Regions from separate parts of the Homo sapiens genome. Here region 2 is linked to region 1. Evidence: promoter capture Hi-C in human tissues and cell types (Jung and others, 2019). All regions are on one chromosome and are shown on one strand. Each heading gives the region's core, a stretch centred on a gene start or on the middle of the fragment in contact. The rest is flanking DNA. Distances are from core to core; before and after follow the strand shown. Region 1 holds the start of CYP3A43 (cytochrome P450 family 3 subfamily A member 43). Region 2 overlaps CYP3A7-CYP3A51P (CYP3A7-CYP3A51P readthrough).

Region 1 (5,123 bases), core at 596-3,095:
CCTGCTGGTACCAAGTTGCCAGGTCCCTGCAATGTTCCAGACAAAGACAGTGATGGTAAAAAGGGAAAAGTGGAGGTAGAATGCAAGTGCAGCAGCAGGAAGATATGGGACTCTCCATTTTAGGGTCTTCAAGTTTTTCAGATTTTCTGAGACATGGGTTAACTCTTCAGGTTAGTCTCCTAGTAAAACACAGCCAAAGTCCCAATTGTGTTTGAAACTTTCAAAAATGCAGATTGAAAGAAAGCCTCTTACTGTCTTTGAGAAGTCCAGACTCCTCTTATCCTCATTGCATGCTTCGGAGTTCAATTTAGGTGTATCTCTCACATCCATTTCTGTCGAGCCTTTACCTTTAAATTTTAAACTTGAAAAACTGCCAGAGTACCTGATAGTGATTGATCAGAGACAGAGCCACCGAATTACCCGATGGCAGGCCTTAGAGACCATGGCCTTAGGACCTAGGTTATGCATAGCCCTCACCTTAGGAAGGGGTCCCTTCAAGGGCAAATAAAATGCGATAGTCCTTGCAACACTGAAGCATGGAGTATCCTGTGAGGCATGAACTTGCTTGATGCAGCATGAATGCACCCCAAGAAACATGGGCATGCCCCTCCAAGTGCAAGCATACCCCACAAGTGGGTAGCCATAGAGCCAGAAGGGCAGGTTCCCTGAAAAAAATAAAGACCTCAAGACCTCATCCTAAATGTGAGATCTTGGATGTAAGAGGATTTACTGATTTTTCCACAAAACAGCCAGGCCAGGAAGATAACTGAGCTTAGAGGACTCTTGCTGGTGCCAATGCATTGATTAGTCCAGATGACAAGGGAGAGGATCTTGAGAGCCAATTTTGATCCCTTCCTCATCACCAGGAAATATGAGTAAAGATTGTGGGATCTGTGGAGGACAGAGGGAGAGCTTCATTTTCTATAAAACACAGTCTGCAGATTGAGGAGATGCAGCCTCGGAGGTGGAGAGCTATAAAGTCAAAAACCACAGAGCAGGATAGAGGAGTCAGAGGAGTGAAGAAAAGAGTCTTGATTAGACAGCCTTTAAGCCCCAAGTCACATGTCTCTTAATTGGCTGTTCCTAGGTGGTCAGTTAGTTCTTACCACATGATCTGTTGGTGAGCAGTTGGAAAATTCCCAGGTACAGATTTTTTCAGAAAATGTTATTTGACTTGGCTACAGAAAAATAGGTTTTGCAACACTTACTAAGAACACAGAGAACATGACCATCACCTAAACCTGCCATGGCCTCTTGGGTTTGTTTTTGCTTTTGAGGCACAGGGAGTCCTTCTTGTCTGTTTACCTGGAGGCATGATTTGGCAACCTAGATAACAAACAGAGATAGGCTTTCTAAAAAGAATTATTTTTATTTGGGAATAAAGCATTGCAATGGGAATATGCGTGCCAAGGTAAACTATGTGCTTATTCAGGTAGGTAAAGTAAGACAAAGTTTAAAAAAATAATGAGAAGGATTACATATTTGTTTTGGAATGATTATCCTTGGCTATAAAGATCAATAACAAGACTGACATCAGTTTGAGGTTGGACAGGCAGTTGCTGGGCAGATGTTCTTGCAGAAGTATTTTTCTTTAGGTTCCTGAGAATCTATAACCTTTGGGCTTACCAATAGCAGTGACTGATTTGTTTACTGATTGTTCACAGAATAGGAAATCAAAGGAGGCCAAAATAAGGACAGCCATAATTATTTGCCAATTGTCAATTTGAAAAGGGTACCCAAATCCCTCCATATGAGGAGTAGCATAAGTGGCTTTTCTACTGGCTGCCGCTGTAGACCCACCTCCTTCTCCAGCACATAAATATCGCTGTTAACATTAACTAAATCACCTCTGGGCAGAGAAACAAAGCTCTATATGCACAGCCCAGCAAAGAGCAGCACACAGCTGAAAGAAAAACTCAGAAGACAGAGCTGAAAAAGAAAACTGGTGATGGATCTCATTCCAAACTTTGCCATGGAAACATGGGTTCTTGTGGCTACCAGCCTGGTACTCCTCTATATGTGAGTAACTATGCAGGCATGTTTGCTCTTAACTCTAAGACCTGAAGTGCTAATTGGGCCCATCTTTTTCTTATTTGTTTTGAAGATAAAAGAGATAACGGAGGGGAAGTTACCTAAGTGCCAAATACTGTGAACACATAAAATATTATTAATATGTTAGGACTCCTAATACAACATTTGAAAATGTAAAATTTAGTCTGGGTGCGGTGGCTCACACCTGTAATCTCAGCACTTGGGAGGTGGAGGCAGGCCAATCACAAGGTCAGGAGTTCAAGACCAGCCAGACCAACATGGTGAAACCCCTTCTCTACTAAAAATACAAAAATTAGTCAGGCATGGTGGCACACACCTGTAATCCCAGCTACTTGGGAGGCTGAGGCAGGAGAATCGCTTGAACCCAGGAGGCAGAGGTTTCAGTGAGCGGAGATTGCACCACTGCATTCCAGCCTGGGTGACAGAGCAAGACTCCGTCTCAAAAAAAAAAATAAAACTTTGTCATACTGAGTAGTTTGAACTAAAGAAGACTGAAAGACTTCACAAATGTCTTCAGAATCTCTGACCCTCTTCTGTCTACCCATCCCCCATTCTTTCCCTCCTGAAGTGCAGGGTTGCTCTGAAGTTCTCTTATCTGACTAAGGGAAGATCTTCCAAAAAGAATGCAATTGTCTTGAGCCTCTCCAAATAATCTCATCAATCAGAAAACTAATTCACAGGAAAAGAGAAAAAGTTTGATAATACTTATTCTTTGGAGCACTGCTACCTGAGAGACTTTATCTCCACAATAAAATAACCTTTGTTCATCATGTGTTTTCTCCCTTCACCTTCCCATAACTTGTGTCAGAAACTCCCTATCAGAAGCCACTCCCTACTTTTTAGCTTACAATGCTATTTAAGCTTTACTCATTCAGTCCTTATTTTAGTCTCATATATTGTGGGCCTCCAGCACATATGCATGTAAAATTTTGTATGGATTTTCACTGTAACCACCCAAGAGATTCACCTTGCCCCCTGCCTCAACAGAGCCCATTCATCAAGACAGGGGAATTGTAATAGAGAATGAGTTAATACATGCTGCCAACAAAAAGAGCCAAACTCTGTACAATACTTGAAGAGATTTATTCTGGGCCAAATATGAGTGACCATGGCCCATGACACAGCCTTCAGGAGGTCTTAAGAACATGTACCCAAGGTGGTCAGGGTGCAGCTTGGTTTTATTCTTTTAGGGAGGCATGAGATATCAAATACATTTAAGAAATACATTGGTTTGGTCCACAAAGGCAGGAAATGTGATTTTTGCAGAATTCTTTGTGATAGAGCAGACTCCAGAGAAATTGCAACAACTTAAAGTCTTTCAGATCTGGCCCTAAGGAGCTATAGGAGAGAAAAAAAATCTGTCAGATCACCATTGCCTACCTCTACTCCAACTGGAGCTGTTTCAAAACCAACATGTAGAAATCTTTTTGTCTGGCTGCCCTGTGAACTCAGAAACTAGTCTGCTAAATGATTAACTTTTGGTCTCCTTTTGCTTTGGTAGAATGACCTCTTATTAAGTACCTGTTTAACTGCACCATATACAGACCTATCTTTCATGACAGCAGACCTGCAACATCACCTCCTGAAATGAGGCACAGCTGTTTAACTGGATTGACATTGCTAGGAATGTGAGACTGGTTTATACTGGTTTAATGTGATTCCTTGCGACTCAGCTACCAATTCAATTGTCCTCTCCACAAGCATCAACTCAGCTTTAGTATGTACATTTTCTAGGGAAGTTTATGACAGGGGAAAGTTGGGGCTCCAAAAATGAAACCCCAAAATATGGCACTTAAGCATGTTGAGGACTTTGAACCAAAGGAAATTGAAAGGTCTCAGAAAGTCTTCAGAACCAAGCTAACTCTTATGTTCTCCTGTCTCCCAACCCTGCTATTTCTCCCAAAATATAGGAAGGGGCTTTCTCTGAAGTTCTCATACCTAAAGGAAGATCCTCCTAAAAAAAAGCAATGGTCTTGAGCCCCCTCCCTATAATCTCATGAAAAAGAATCTTAGCAGGGCCAGGCATGGTGGCTCATACCTGTAATTCCAGCACTTTGGAAAGCCGAGGTGGGTGGATCACGTGAGGTCAGAAGTTCAAGACCAGCCTGGTCAACATGATGAAACCCTGTCTCTACTAAATATACAAAAATTAGCTGGGTGTGGTGGCAGGTGCCTGCAATCCCAGCTACTCGGGAGGCTGAGGCAGGAGAATCGCCTGAACCCTGGAGGCAGAGGTTGCAGTGAGCCAAGATTGCGCCATTGCACTCTAGCCTGAACAACAAGAGCAAAACTTAGTCTAAAAGAAAAAAAAAAGAAAAAAATAATATTAGCTCACAGAAAGGGAGACTAAGGTTGATAATACTTGTTCTTTGGAGCACTGATGCCTGACAGACATTATAATAAGATGACTTTTGTTTATCATGCTTTTTCTTCCCTCACTCTCTCATGTCTTGTGTCACCCACTCCCCATCAGAAGATACTACATTTTTATAGCTCAGAATGCTATTTAAGCTTCAATCATCAGGCCATTCTTTGAGTATCATATCTTTCAAGGCTCCCATGCATATTCATGAGATAAATTTATAAGGATTATCTCCTATTAATTGATCTACTGTTAGTTCATTTCTCAGACTCAAATATCAAACCTCCATAGAGGAATGTTCTCTTGACCCTACAGATGTTACACAGATCCGTTGAAGAAGTAAATAAACATTATCCACCTCCTCTTCATTCAACTTCCAATTTCTGTTACTAAGAGTGTTTACTGACATCATTCAATCCTGGGGATGCTTTCTGATTGACTATGAGTTTTGATCTACCTAGACTAACAACCAGAATTTAGCATGGGCAGATAATGGATTATAAACAACTGGAAACCCAAGAGGTTATTTTCGATGTGTGAGTAGGAAAAGATCCCCAAAGAGGGAACCAAGCTAACAGCTGGGCCTGGCCAGGGTGCCACTGTGGGGTCCTTCAAACACATTCTCTTCATGCAATTTTTCAGCTTTATCACATTTTATAAGATTTATTTATTTGTACTGAATATTTAGGATCTAAGAAAAGCTAACCTA
Region 2 (5,119 bases), core at 1,397-3,896, 100 kb before region 1:
ATCAAGGGAAGAAAAAAAGAAGAGGGGAATAGGCAGACACTGGACAGAACGTGATGCTGGGAGTCCCTGGGCCACCAAAGCTTGGAGAAAAGTGGTAACCACAATGGTCTCAGCCTAGTTTAGACCGAAGACCTCAACACCTGGTGACATATGGGATCCTTGGTAGGACAAATCTCAAAAAGTTGTTTTACAATAGCGAGTGTGAACATTGTGAGAACCAAAATTATGACACGTGTGTGTGTGTGTGTCAGTGTGTCTGTGTGCCTATGTGTGTGATTAAAAACCTTGACAAATAAATCAAAGAAGGCTATGATGAGTGGATTCTCATGCTTGTGTGCCTGATAACAAAACTATCACAAAATACTTGGCAAAACCACCAGCTTGCAGAAAGCCCAACCCAACCTTACACAAAAATATTTCTGCAAGGACACCTGCCCAGCAACTGCCTGTCCAACCTTGGTGTGGCATCACCCTTGTTACTGATCTTTGTAGTGAAGGAGAACTATTTCAAAATCCACATGAAGTCCTCCTCATATTTTCTGTGGAACATCTTTGTCTTCCTTTACCTCCCTGAATTTGCACATAGCTTATAATGGCACACAGTTTCCCATTCTAATACTCTTCTCCCAAATACATATCTTCTTCTTTCAGAAAACCTCTCTGTTTGTAGTTAGGCTGGCAAGAGCTTCATCGCAAGAGGCTCTGGGCTGAGACTATCCTCTGTGCAGTGGGGTAAACTCATCATAGAAACAAGTCTATCCAATGGAATCTTCCAGAATACTCACCCCCAGACTTTTCTATACTTTTTATAACATTCCATGTCAAACGTCCAATAGCCCTGGGAGGAGAAACAAAATAATATTTCATTATTATTTTAAGTGTACTTAACCCTGCCTCTAATTGGGGTTGAAAACAGTCAAATCCAATGAAATTAGACTTGCTGGCAGTTAGAGGAAGCTTATTTAGAGATGTCATAAGAGAAAGGAAACAAAATAGAGGAGGTATTTGAAATGGGAAATTTAAAATCACTCTTGAATTTTCTTTAAGTGTTGTCGATACTGAATGTCTTATCCTTGTGTATAAATACTAAGTAACTCCTTGTCTTTCTGATGTCTCTTTGCTTTTTCATGTGTTGTCTCTAAAATCTCATAAATCCTTGAATGATCACCTCTAGGGGCATGTGGAGAAACTGAGGCTGAGGGAATGTGAGTGAGCGCCAGAAGGGAACGTGCAGTCTTTTTTCTCTTTGTTCTTCATCCTTTTCATTTATTTCATGAGCTCACTCTAGAATTCTAGCAGAATTAGAAAGTTACAGACACCAGGGACCTCTTTTAGCCTAGCAGATTTAGATAAGTGTGAGGCATGTTTGTTGAGTGAGAAAATGAGTGAGTGACAGAATGACAAAGTGGACTCGCTTTCCAGTTTTCCAGCTTAACATGAAAGTTCTGAGAAAATGTCACCTCTACACATCGGAGACAGAAAATTATGACACTTGCTCCGAGTTTGCACTGAAACTTAAAAAAAAACCTTCCTGTTTCTACATTTCAGGGGTGAAGTTTTAACTATGGAAAAGAAGGTCCGAGGAATGTGTATCTTGGGGGTACATCTACTAAAGATTTGACATGGGAAAGTGGTGGGTTTCAGGCCTCTTAGCCCAAGCCTGCATGGGTACATCCAGATGGCCTGAGGCAACCAAAAACTACAAATAGGTGAAACAGCCAGCTCCTGTCTTAACTGATTGACCAACCTTACAACGTTCCATTATGACTTGTTACTGCCCTGCCCCAACTGATCGATTGATCGACCTCGTGACATTCTTCTTCTGGACAATGAGTCTTATGATCTCCCTACCATGCACCTTGTGACCCCCTCCTCTGCTGACAATAGATAACTTCCTTTAACTGCAACTTTCCACTGCTTACCCCAGTCCTATAAAACTGACCCACCCCTATCTCCCTTTGCAGACTCCTTTTCGGACTCAGTCAGCCTGCACCCAGGTGATTAAAAAGCTTTATTGCTCACACAAAGACTGTTTGGTGGTCTCTTCACATGGACGCAAATGACATTTGGTGCCAAAGACCTGGGACAGGGGGACTCCTTCGGGAGTCCCATCCCCTGTCCTCGCCCTCACTCCATGGGGAGATCCACCTCTTGGGTCCTCAGACCAGCCAGCCCAAGGTCATCTCACCAATTTTAAATCGGGTAAGCGGCCTCTTTTTATTCTCTTCTCCAACCTCTCTTGCTATCCCTCCACCCTTCAATCTCTCCCTTCCTTAATTTCAGTTTCTTTCCCTTTCTGGTAGAGACGGAGGAGATACGTTTTATCCATGAACTCAAAACTCTGGTGCCAGTCATGGACTCGGGAACAGTCTTCCCTTGGTGTCTAAATCACTGCCAGGACACCTGCCTGGTTATTCACCCACATTTCAGAGGTATCTGATCACTGTGGGGATGCCTGCCTTGATCATTCACCTTGGCACAAGTACCACCTCCCCTGGGTCACAAGTATCACCTTCCCTGGGTGGCAAGTACCACCTTCCCTGGGTGGCAAGCACCACCTTCCCTGGGTGGCAAGTACCATCTCCCCTCTCTCCATGTCTCTACCTTCTCTTTTCTCTGGGCTTGCCCCCTTCACTATGGGCAACCTTCCAGCCTCCACTCCCTCTTCTTCTCCCTTAGCCTGTGTTCTTCAAAACCTAAAACCCCCTTTGACTAACACCTGACCTAAAACCTAAATGCCTTATTTTCTTCTGCAATACCGCTTGGCCTCAATACAAACTGGACAATGGTTCCAAATAGCCAGAAAATGACACTTTTGATTTCTCGATCTTATAAGACCTGGATGATTTTTGTTGAAAAATGGGCAAATGGTCTGAGGTGCCTGACATCCAGGCATTCTTTTATACATCAGTCTCTCCCTAGTCTCTGCTCCCAGTGTGACTCATCCCAAATCTTTCTTCTTTCTCTCCTGTCTCTTTCTTCAGTCTCCACCCTAAGCTCTGAGTCCTTTGAATCCTCCTTTTCTATGAACCCATCTGACCTCTCCCCTCCCCACCAGGCTGCTCCTCACCAGGCCAAGCCAGGTCCCAATTCTTCCTCATCCTCTGCTCCCCCACCCTATAATAGAAGTATCACCTCCCCTCCTCACACCCACTCCACCTTACAGTTTCATTCCGAGACTAGCCCTCCTCCACCTGCCCAACAATTTTCTCTTAGTCAGGTGGCTGGAGCTGAAGGCATAGTCAAGGTACATGTGCCTTTTTCTCTATCGACCTCTCCCAGATCAGTCAGCGTTTAGGCTCTTTTTCATCAGACCCCACTAAATATATACAGGAATTCCAATATTTAACTCAGTCCTGCGATTTAACCTGGAGTGACTGAAATGTCATCCTGACCTCCCCCCTCTCCCCAGATGAGCAGGAAAGAGTTGATACCCTAGCCCAATCTCACACTGACACCCACCAGTGCCATGAGCCAGACCTTCAAGAAGGCATCAGGGCAGTTCCCCAAGAGCATCCCCATTGGCAGTACAAGATGGACTCCCCAGGTATAGCTAGGTGAGATTACATGGTCTCCTGCCTAGTCAAGGGGTTCAAAAAAGCAGCATACAAGGCTGTTAATTATGACAAGCTAAAGGAAACTACCCAAGGTAAAGATGAAAACCCAGCCCAGTTCATGGCCCACTTAGCACCTACCATTAGATGCTTCACAGCCCTGGACCCAGAGGGGCCAGAAGGCCGCCTTATCCTTAATATGCATTTTATGACCCAATCCTCTCCTGACATTAGAAAAAATCTCCAAAAATTGGATTCCAGGCCTCAAACCCCACAACAGGACTTAAATAGCCTCACCTTCAAGGTGTATCATAATAGAGAAGAGGCGGCCAAGTGACAATGCATCTCTGAATTATAGCTACTTGCCTCCAGTGTAAGACAACCCAAGACCATGTCTCCAGCATACAAAACCTTCAGAACATCCAAGCCACAGCTCCCAGGGGCTCCTTCAAAACCTCCTCATGGACCTTGCTTCAAATGCCAAAAGCCTGGCCACTGGGCCTCAGAAGGCCCACAGCCTGGGATTCCTCCTAAGCCGTGCCCTGTCTGTGTGGGCTCCAATTAGAGGTTGGACTGTCTGACTCACATCGCCACTGCTCCTAAAGTTCCTGGAGCTCAAACCCAATGTTTCTTGGCTGACTCCTTCCCAGATCTCCTTGGCTTAGTGGCTGAAGACTGATGCTACCCGATCACCTCGGAAGCCCCCCGGAGAATCACGGATGCCAAACTTCAGGTAACTCTTACAGCAGAGGGTAAGTCCATCCCCTGTGTAATCGATAGGGGGGATACCCACTCCACACTACCTTCTTTTCAAGGGCCTGCTTCCCTTGCCCCCATAACTGTTGTGGGTATTGACGGCCAGGTTTCTAAACCTCTTAAAACTCCCCAACTTTGGTGCCAAATTGGGCAACATTCTTTTATGCACTCCTTTTTAGTTATCCCCACCTGCCAGTTCCCTTATTAGGCTGAGATATTTTAACCAAATTATCTGCTTCTCTGACTATTCCTGGACTACAGCTACATCTCATTGCCATCCTTCTTCCCAACCCAAAGCCTCCTTCGTGTCTTCCTCTTGTATCCCCCCACCTTAACCCACAGGTATGGGACACCTCTACTCCCTCCCTGGCAACTGATCACATGCCCATTACTATCCCATTAAAGCCTAATCACCCTTACCCAGCTTAACGCCAGTATCCCATCCCACAAGAGGCTTTAAGGAGATTGAAGCCTGTTATCACTCACCTGCTACAGCATGGGCTTCTAAAGCCTACAAACTCTCCTTATAATTCCCCCATCTTACCTGTCTAAAAACCAGACAAGTCTTACAGGTTTGTTCAGGATCTGCGCCTTATCAACAAAATTGTTTTCCTATCCACCCTGTGGTGCCCAACCCGTACACTCTTTTGTTCTCAATATCTCCCTCCACAACTCACTATTCCATTCTTGATCTTAAAGATGCTTTTTTCACTATTCCCCTGCACCACACATCCCAGCCTCTCTTTGCTTTTACCTAAACTGACCCTGACACCCATCAGTCCCAGCAGCTTACCTGGGCTGTACTGCCA

The links. The method cuts DNA at HindIII sites, captures the fragments that hold promoters and counts their contacts. A contact is called where the count stands out against the background at its distance.
Region 2: a fragment that was not itself captured here is called in contact with the fragment with the promoter of CYP3A43 in region 1 in 2 of the 25 tissues and cell types used here (H1 embryonic stem cells and bladder).

Annotation. Positions count from the first base shown.
Region 1 is chr7:99,826,168-99,831,290 of GRCh38, forward strand. It overlaps CYP3A43 (cytochrome P450 family 3 subfamily A member 43), which reads left to right and starts at 1,846. Exons shown (of 13, transcript NM_057095.3): 1 at 1,846-2,019. The coding sequence starts at 1,949. The HindIII fragment of the contact is 7,263 bases long and covers 1-3,738 here.
Region 2 is chr7:99,721,511-99,726,629 of GRCh38, forward strand. CYP3A7-CYP3A51P (CYP3A7-CYP3A51P readthrough) reads right to left here. Exons shown (of 15, transcript NM_001256497.3): 3 at 786-838. It overlaps CYP3A7 (cytochrome P450 family 3 subfamily A member 7), which reads right to left. Exons shown (of 13, transcript NM_000765.5): 3 at 786-838. It also overlaps a transcript of ZSCAN25 not described here. Among named protein-coding and RNA genes, the nearest start is that of CYP3A7, 11 kb to the right of the region's middle. The HindIII fragment of the contact is 4,256 bases long and covers 519-4,774 here.